Linked DNA regions of Homo sapiens: regions 1 and 2 are each linked to region 3. The links are contacts of gene promoters, found by promoter capture Hi-C in blood cells and fetal thymus (Javierre and others, 2016). All regions are on one chromosome and are shown on one strand. The core of a region is centred on a gene start or on the middle of the fragment in contact, and the rest is flanking DNA. Distances in the headings are between cores, read along the strand shown.

The links. The method cuts DNA at HindIII sites, captures the fragments that hold promoters and counts their contacts. A CHiCAGO score of 5 or more calls a contact.
Region 1: the fragment with the promoter of KRTAP22-2 here is called in contact with the fragment with the promoter of KRTAP23-1 in region 3 in 7 of 17 cell types (naive CD8 T cells, total B cells, M2 macrophages and 4 more); the score reaches 7.4 in naive CD8 T cells.
Region 2: a contact is called between the fragment with the promoter of KRTAP19-2 here and the fragment with the promoter of KRTAP23-1 in region 3, in 2 of 17 cell types (total B cells and naive B cells). The highest score is 5.5, in total B cells.

Annotation. Positions count from the first base shown.
Region 1 is chr21:30,588,897-30,591,927 of GRCh38, reverse strand. KRTAP22-2 (keratin associated protein 22-2) reads left to right here and starts at 1,531. Exons shown (of 1, transcript NM_001164434.1): 1 at 1,531-1,823. The coding sequence starts at 1,554. The coding sequence ends at 1,691. The HindIII fragment of the contact is 4,540 bases long and covers 1,222-3,031 here.
Region 2 is chr21:30,485,588-30,488,785 of GRCh38, reverse strand. KRTAP19-2 (keratin associated protein 19-2) reads left to right here and starts at 1,350. Exons shown (of 1, transcript NM_181608.2): 1 at 1,350-1,743. The coding sequence starts at 1,438. The coding sequence ends at 1,596. The HindIII fragment of the contact is 2,321 bases long and covers 1-1,794 here.
Region 3 is chr21:30,347,144-30,350,055 of GRCh38, reverse strand. It overlaps KRTAP23-1 (keratin associated protein 23-1), which reads left to right and starts at 1,450. Exons shown (of 1, transcript NM_181624.1): 1 at 1,450-1,657. The coding sequence starts at 1,450. The coding sequence ends at 1,647. The HindIII fragment of the contact is 4,066 bases long and covers 734-2,912 here.

The DNA of each region.
Region 1 (3,031 bases), core at 282-2,781, 240 kb before region 3:
AAAGTAGAGACTTTGTCTATTTTGTTCATCTGCTCAATCTGCATTTCTTATAACGGTGCCTGATACAGCAGATTCTTAATAAAGATTTGATGAATTAGTGAAAAAATAACCAAATGAATGACATGATGCAACTTTCTATACTCAAATTCTGTGTAGAATAATCACAATCTTTGTTCTATGCTTGGGGTAACTGGGGATAAATTCATGTACTCTGGGATCCTTTTGGATCATATGCAAACCAGTGGAGGAATTTATCATGGTGATTTTTTTCTGGTTTGAGAATCCATGCCTTTTCCGATTGTTAAGGTGGTGGTATATATCCACTAAAGTTTATGAACTACTGTGTGCAGTTCCGAAATTCTGACTAAATGTTCTACTTGCCTCTTATTGATATGATACTTTGCCAGTCTCACATTGATCTACAAAGTATGATCCCTAGGTTGATCATTGGTAGTTCTGCTACATTTAAGAGTAGCAAATGAATTAATATGTACTATTATTTGTTTATATTTTATTCTAATTGCTTTATCATAATAAATGACTAATAATTCATTAATAATATTTAATAAGTGGATGGAATAAACGTGACAAATTATCACAGGGAGCTTCATAGAAAGTCAGCTCTCATAATTAAGGCTATCACCAGAATGCATTTGGGCCAGAAATGTGGTTTGCTGATGTTATTCTATCCAAGTCACCACTTTAAAAAATAGTAACAGGAATTCTGCTAGAAGATGAAAAGTATTTTTACAATACTTTTGGAAATTTGGAATTAATATATTTTAAAATAAGCAAATTCATTAAATATAAAAAGAAGGTAAAATATGTGAATATTATGTGTCAGGAGAGGAAAACATGAATTTTGAGATACGGTGGGTAATTGTTTCTAATTGCTTTCTCAGATGCAAAGAGAACACCACAACTAATAATATAACCAAAGTGAGGATGATGGAAGAGAAAAAACTTTACTACTCCAAGAACATAAGCTACATATGAACTTGGAAGAAAATTTTTAGTCCCATTGATTAAGAAATAAATTAGTCAAAACATACAGGCATATTTGCAAGTAAATAAAGACATTTTCATCGGCTTCCTCACTGCATAGCCAACCTTCCCTAACCATTCCTGGCCACTCTGTGGTTTAAGGACTGCATTTATGGAGGTAGAGGAGGATATTGAAAAAGAAAAAAGAAATGTTTCAAGAGGCAGGAAATATAAGCTTAATGTGATCACAGAGAAGCTAATCATCAAGTTTAAATTGGGATTTTAAGTAAGCAAAAGCCACAAAATTAAGAGAATATCTCCTTAAGGCTCATGATTTTACTTGTTGGCATCCTGACACATAGCAATATTAATATTTTCCTGGACATATGGCTAAGAGATTCTTGAGGGTTTTTTTAATCTTAATGCAAATTAGTTGTGAGAATGAGTCCAATGTAGATTGTGGTTTCCTTCACATATAACTCAGGTTGGATAAAATAATTTGTACAAATCAGGAGAGTCAAATTTCAGAAACTACTATCTGCCTCAATTGAACTCCATCTTCTGACACCATGTGCTACTACCACAACTATTATGGTAGCCTGGACTATGGTTGCAGCTATGGCTCTGAATATGGTAACTCTGGATATGCCTGCAACTTTCCGTGCTCCTATGGAAGATTCCTATTGGCTCCTAGAAAGAAATTCTGATTGCTGATCACTTTGAGCCATTTTCTTGTGATGCACTAATTGCATCAACAGGGTTATTTATGGATTCGTTATTGTCTCTCCAATTTTAACTAACTCTAATTATTGATTACCACAGGTCATATTTGCATTGGATTAGTGGAATTTCCTACCAGTTAGTGGGAAAATCCTTTGATATTTTGTTAGTTTTATGTGTTTATGTCTGTTATAATATTAACAATTTCCATGCAGGAAAACTTATAAATTTGCATTTTAATAAATATAATCACTTTCACAATATGTATTGCTTATCATATATATTCATTTCTCTTTATCATTTGTGTATTTGTGTGTGTGTGTGTGTGTGTGTGTGTGTGTGAAAGAGAGAGAGAGAGAGAAAGGGAGAAATAGAAAGAGAGAGTGAAATTGCTACCTGTGGCTATTTTAGTCAGTGATGTGACAAAACAGGCAACTCATGACTGATGTTTTTCCAAAAATGTTTGTATAAAAGTAATTTCAAGTTCAGTTTCAAGAATACTGTTCTCTATATTGATCTAATGCAAGTTTCATTTTAGAAAAATTCAATGTTTGACCTAGGTAATTGGCAAAACCAGTAGCACTATTACCCACCAAGCTATTTTCTACTGCAATTTTCTCTCTCCTAATAGTCTACATTTAAACATGTGCTTCTGTACTGATACAACTCCAGCCCTGCATTGAGTACTCTGACCTCTTTTCACTCACTCTTATAGATAAGAATCCTCTATATGAAGCTGGTTGGTATGCCTGATAATCCTGTGTTTCCACAGCAAAGATCACCTCATTTAGAGATCTAAGTGACTCTTTTGAGTTTTTCTAACTCTGATCATCTTCTAGCAGAATTCCTGTTACTATTTTTTAAAGTGGTGACTTGGATAGAATAACATCTTGCAAACCACATTTCTGGCCCAAATGCATTCTGGTGATAGGTCTTAATTATGAGAGCTGACTTTCTATGAAACTCCCTGTGATAATTTATCATGTTTATTCCATCCACTTATTAAATATTATTAATGATTAGTCATTAATTATGATAAAGCAATCAGAATAAAATATAAACAGATAATAGTACATATTAATTCATTTGCTACTCTTAAATGTAGCAGAACTACCAACGATCAACGTAGGGATCACACTTTATAGATCAATATGAGACTAGTGAAGTATCTCCCAGCCCCCAAGTGCAGGCTTTCTGAAAGCAAACGGAAGTGAAAATACTGTATTGCTGTCTATTCCTTCCTCCCTGGAGTGAAAAAGTCAATCCATTAGCAGTTCCAACCCAACTTGCCCAACCAGTGACTGGGCAGAGAAGTTGGTGATCATTC
Region 2 (3,198 bases), core at 101-2,600, 140 kb before region 3:
TTTCCCTTGTTATTCTCATGATAGTGAGTAAGTCTCATGAGATCCGATGGGTTTATCAGGGGTTTCCGCTTTTGCTTCTTTCTCATTTTCTCTTGCCGCCACCATGTAAGAAGTACCTTTCACCTCCTGCCATGATTCTGAGGCCTCCAGAGCCATGTGGAACTGTAAGTCCAATTAAACCTATTTTTCTTCCCAGTCTCAGGTATGTCTTTATCAGCAGTGTGAAAACAAACTAATATACCTGATCTCAAGTGATCTTCTCACCTTGGCCTCCAGAATTACAGGGGTGAGCCACTGTGCCCCACCTGAAGAGAATATCTTTGAACTGCTGTTCAGGCTGGTGTAAAACTGAGTTTATTCTCTTGGATAATATATCAGTTTCTGGAATAAATTTTGTTACATTGATAAGCCAAAACAATGTTTTGCAAGCTGATATAGAAAATTAAAGTAGTTTTATATTATGTCTACATACATATTTTCCATTACTTTGTGTTTACCACAGCTGATAAGAAAATTTATTTATTCAAAAACTTCCTTTTCTTTTGAAGGAGGAATAGCCTTAATTTCTCAACGCAATAAAAATATTTGATATTTGAAGGCTTTACTAGATTTAAAAGTTTTAAACTTGATCGATTTATTTGAATCTAGGTGGAGGTAAAATAGAACAATCTAAGGAATGGTGTAAAAATGAGAAATGAGAAAACATTTAATAAAAACACAGTGTCAAATACAAATAATTCAATATGCATAGTGATGAAGAATTTAGGATTTTTTAAAAATTGTGTAACTTTGAAGATGCAGACTATTTTATCATTAAAAAGAATGTATCAGCTGGGCGCAGTGGCGCAAGCCTGTAATGCCAGCACTTTGGGAAGCCAAGGTGTGTGGATCACCTGAAGTCAGGAGTTCGAGACCAGCCTGGCCAACATGGTGAAACCCTGTCTCTACTAAAAATATAAAAATTAGCTGAGAGTGGTGGCAGACACCTGTAATCCCAGCTACTCAGGAGGCTGGGGCAGGAGAATCACTTGAACCCAGGAGGTGGAGTTTATAGTGAGCTGAAATCACAACATTGCACTCCAGCCTGGGTGACAAGAGCAAGACTCCATCTTAAAAAAAAAATGTAATAAGTTCAAGGGCATTCTAACCATGCAGCTAAGCCAGCTCAAAGATTTTAATGAGTTTGTGTCTCTCCTTGTGCTAACAAACAGATTGATTATTTGTATAGAGTAGATAAATAAATTGGGATGCTGCAAAAGGATGGCCACATGTTTATCACATGTTCTGCTCAGGGTATATAAGCGTTCCCTAAACATGCTATATTCACACTCAGGACCTTGCCTGGGACAGCAAACCCAACTCACTATCTCTGACACCGTGAGCTACTAGGGCAGCTACTGTGGAGGTCTGGGCTATGGCTGTGGAGGCTTTGGTGGCATGTGCTATGGCTACGGCTGTGGATGTGGCAGCTTCTGCAGACTGGGCTATGGCTGCGGCTATGAAGGATGCAGATATGGTTGTGGCCACAGAGGCTGTGGAGATGGCTGCTGCTGCCCATCATGCTACAGAAGATATAGATTCACTGGCTTCTACTAAGCTGCTGCTCTAGTGATGCAGCATCTGTTATTTTGAAGGGATTTAAAAACAAGTTACTTACTTCTAAGATACAATGGGGGTAAAGGTGTAAATGTGTAAATGCTCCCATTCCAAAGGGAGAAATTGACCAAAACAAAGGGGCTATAAGACCCCAAACAAGTCCAAAACCCAGCAGGGCAGTCATTAAATATTAAAGCTTCAAAATAATCTCCTTTTACTGCATGTCTCACACCCAGGCCACATCGATGCAATGGGTAGACTCCCAGGGCATTGGGCAGCTCCACTTCTGTGGCTCTGCAGGGTATAGTTCTCCTGGCTGCTTTCACAGGCTTGCATTGAGTATCTGCAGCTTTTCCTGGCACACAGTGGAAGCTGTCTGTGGATCTACCATTCTGGGGTCTGGAGGATGGTGACCCTCTTCTCAGAGCTCCACTAGGCAGTGTCTCAGTAGGGACTCTGGGTGGGGGCTCTAAACCCACATTTCCCCTCCACATTGCCCTAGTAGAGGTTTTCCATGAGGGCTCCACACTTGTAGCAGACTTCTGCCTGGAAATCTAGGTATTTTCTTACTCCCTCTGAAATCTAGGCAGGAGCTCCCAAGCCTCAACTCTTGCCCTCTGTGCACCCACAGGCTTAACACCATGTGAAAACCTTGGCAGCTCCTCGCTTGCACACTTGGGAACATCAGCCTGAGATGTATCTGGAGCCCTTTTACCGATGGCTGGAGCTTGAGTGTCTGGGACTCAGGGCAACATGTCCCAAGGCTGCACAGAGCAGTGGGTCCTTGGGCCTGGCCAACAAAATCATTTTTCCCTCCTAGGCCTCCAGGCCTGTGGTGAAAGGGCTGCTGCAATGGTCTCTGAAATGACTTGGAGGCATTTTTCCATTGTCTTGGCTATTAACATTTGGCTCCTCTCTACTTATGCAAATTTCTGCAGCAGGCTTGAATTTCTCCCCAAACAATGAGATTTCATTTTCTATGACATGGCTGGGCTGCAAATTTTCCAAACTTTTATGCTATGTTTCCCTTTTATGCTCTGGAAATATAAGTTCCAGCTTCAGATAATCTCTTTGTTCAAGCATATGAGGGTATGCTGTTAGAAGTAGCCATATTACATCTTGAATGATTTGCTGCCTAGAAATTTCTTCTGCCAGATACCCTAAATTGTCTCCCTCAAGTTCAAAGCTCAACGGATCCCTAGAGCACAGGCACGGTGCTGCCAGTCTCTTTGCTAAAGCATAGTAAGTGTGACCTTTTCTCCAGTTCCCAATAAGTTTCTCACCTCCATCTGAGACCACCTCATTTGGGCTTTATTGTCCATGTCACTATCAGCGTTTTGGTGACAACAATTTAACAAATCTCTAGGAAGTTCCAAACTTTCTCCCATCTTCTTTTCTTCTGAGCTCTCCAAACTGTTCCAACCTCTGCCTGTTACCCAGTTCCAAAGTCGTTCCACATTTTCAAGTATCTTTATAGCAATGTCCTTCTTCTCTGGTACCAATTTTCTGTATTAGTCCATTGTCACACTGCTATAAAGAAATACCTGAGACTGGGTAATTTATAAAGTAAATAAGTTTAATTGGCTCACAGTTCTGTGGGCT
Region 3 (2,912 bases), core at 201-2,700:
TTGAAAAGATCAAATTACATAAATAGCTTTTTGCTTTCCAATTTCTAAAAGATGCTTGAAGGCAGAAGTTGGATATGATAACAAGTGGGGAAAAAGACATTTCTAATTCCAAGATTTTTCTTTATACCACTGATGTTTTATAGTGGTAAAGATAATTTTAACCACTTAATATAATGGTAAATTTTATGCTGCTTTGTCTTCCTAGAAGGATGAACAAGAGAAGCTCAGCAAGGAGTGAAATGAATCACTCTGGAAGGTGTCGTATTTCTCACTCCCAACTGAGTTGGCAAAAGGTCGGCACCCTATTAAAATTCAAGCTTCTGCAAATGTATTTTATTGGTAGTCAACTCACTAAAGGCATATCAGTTTTTCGCAACTAGTCCCAGTGAAAGTCTGTGTTTGCCAAAGAATTTTCTGCCTCACACTGAAAAAGAATCTAATAACTCCATGGTGGATAAAACATGAGTTGCTTAACTAGGATAAACTGAGTGAGAGGGCAAATAGAAGATAATTTGTAACAAAGCATCTCCATAGTAACTCTGAATACTAAAAAAATAACCAAAATCAATTAAGAAGCTGTCCCCTCAGTTGGCTATATTTGGGGAATTCATAAAAGGGGTAAGAATACTCAAGTAGATATATCAGATGAAATGCAAATATTAACACCTTGGAATTTTTTTTTCACCTGCATACTCAATTGTCCATGTGATTCTGGGAGCAGAAATTACAAGCTTCACAAATTGTCTATATAGCTCTGTGGTTTGTGCTAGCCTTAAAGACAGACACACCTGGGATGACATGGGGTCCATGATTTGTTTGATTTATTACCTGAATGTTACATAACTTTTCCAAACCTCCATGGCCTTACTTCTAAATTGTTTATGACAACTTGTATCTCATAAGATATTTGCAAAGATTAAATCATACCACACTTTTAAATGTTGCGCATGTAGTTAATGCTTAATAAAACATATGTAAATAATGGGGGGTGGGTGGCTGCTGATTACTGTTGGGAGTACATTGCTGGTAAGAATTTGTAGGCTGAAGCTCAGAATACCCACAGTCAAGCTCAGTAAAAGGGGTGGGGAGGCACTGTATGTATCATCACCAATGTTTCTGAAAGCAAACCAAACCTTATTTCTGCAGAGAGAGAGAGAGAGAGAGAGAGAGAGAAAGAGACAGAGAGAGAGAGAGAGAGAAGCCAATGGGCTTCTATAAACTGGAATGATTACACTGCTGTTAAAGACAAATGAATGTGTTGAGTTATAATTATAACCTAGGTTACTTAGTCATTTGATGAAAACACATTCACAAGAATGGGGGGGTTCCCGGATACTGCATCACGCCCAGCAGTGTGAGGGTGTAAACATCACTGGATCATTGGGCACAGGCAGGGACATCAGGGCATCTTCTCAATGCAGCTCAGCTGAACTCACATCTCCTGTCAACATGTCCTACAACTGCTGCTGTGGAAACTTCTCCTCCCATTCCTGTGAGGGCTACCTGTGCTACTCAGGCTACTCCCGTGGTGGCTCCTCGTACCCCAGCAACCTGGTCTACAGCACTGAACCTTTGATCTCCCAGCACCTGCCAGCTGGGTTCCTCTCTCTGCAAGGGCTTTCAGGAGACTTGCTGGGAAACCCCTAGCTGCCAGATGTCCTGTGTGGAGTCCAGCCCCTGCCAGACCTCCTGCTACCGCCCCAGAAGCTCCGTGCTCTGCAGTCCCTGCCAGTCGACTTACTCTGAGTCTCTAGGCTTTGGATCCAGCAGCTGCCGCTCCCTGGGCTATGGATCTAGGAGCTGCTACTCAGTGGGCCGTGGGTCCAGTGGCGTCAGATCCCTGGGTTATGGAGGCTGTGGCTTCCCTTCCCTGGGCTATGGATCTGGATTCTGCCACCCAACATATGTTCTCTTTAGGACATTCCAGTCTTCCTGTTACAGACCAACTTGTGGATCTGGCTTCTACCGATCAACTTGCTAAGGGCTCCAAACCTCCACATTACAATTATTTCTCTCAAAGTCCATCTCAGCTATCATCTGGCTAGAACCTATATTCTACTATCCAGAAAAGATAATTGTTTTAAACTTATTAATATTAAAATAACATTTCTCATAGAATACTCATCTCTTTTTCTTCTGTTTTCTTGTATTTTCCCTTCCTTCTCTAGTTAAAAATGGAGCAAGAGTTGATTTCTTTTTCTTCAAATAAACTCATTTAATCTGATATCAGATCACAAATCTTGTGTTAATTTTCTTTATAAGATGTCTGTCGGGAATTTGAAACCCCCACTTTTTGTCTAAAAATAAAATATTCACTTTGAGGGAAAGGAGTAGGTTCCTTGATAGGCAGAGTTTTCTAACAACAGAGATCTAGTTCCTGGGAATTTCTGCCAAGTAGACTCAGAGATAGGACAGGAGATTATCTCTGTTTTTCTATTCATGGCCATTTAGGCCTAATCAGGACACTTCACTTTGGTTAAGCTACTCATGGGTCTAGTCTAGGAAGAAAATATCCAGAGACAGCAGTGATGTTTTAGCAAGTACTAGCCTGGCTGTTTTTATGAGAACATTATCAAAATCCTTCCTGTAATCTTCCTTCCCAGACATATATAAGCCACAATGAAATTCTGAGGTCAGGATTTTAACTGAGTTCAGTAGCAAGTGTAATGAAACAAATAGTTTAGGTATACATGAAATTAAAGATGTATGCATTCCACTATAATAAGAAGAATATAATATCTAAGAGTTTTTTTTTTTTTAATTTGATGGTTCACTCCCTCCTCCTTTCATTAGGTCACTATAAAGCCATCCGGTGTTATAATAGAAGTCACCTGAAAACTGTCTGAAACCTGGCAGTATCATGCATAGGTGACACGGACTGAGAGATAAGACTTTACCTCTTGATATCCTGG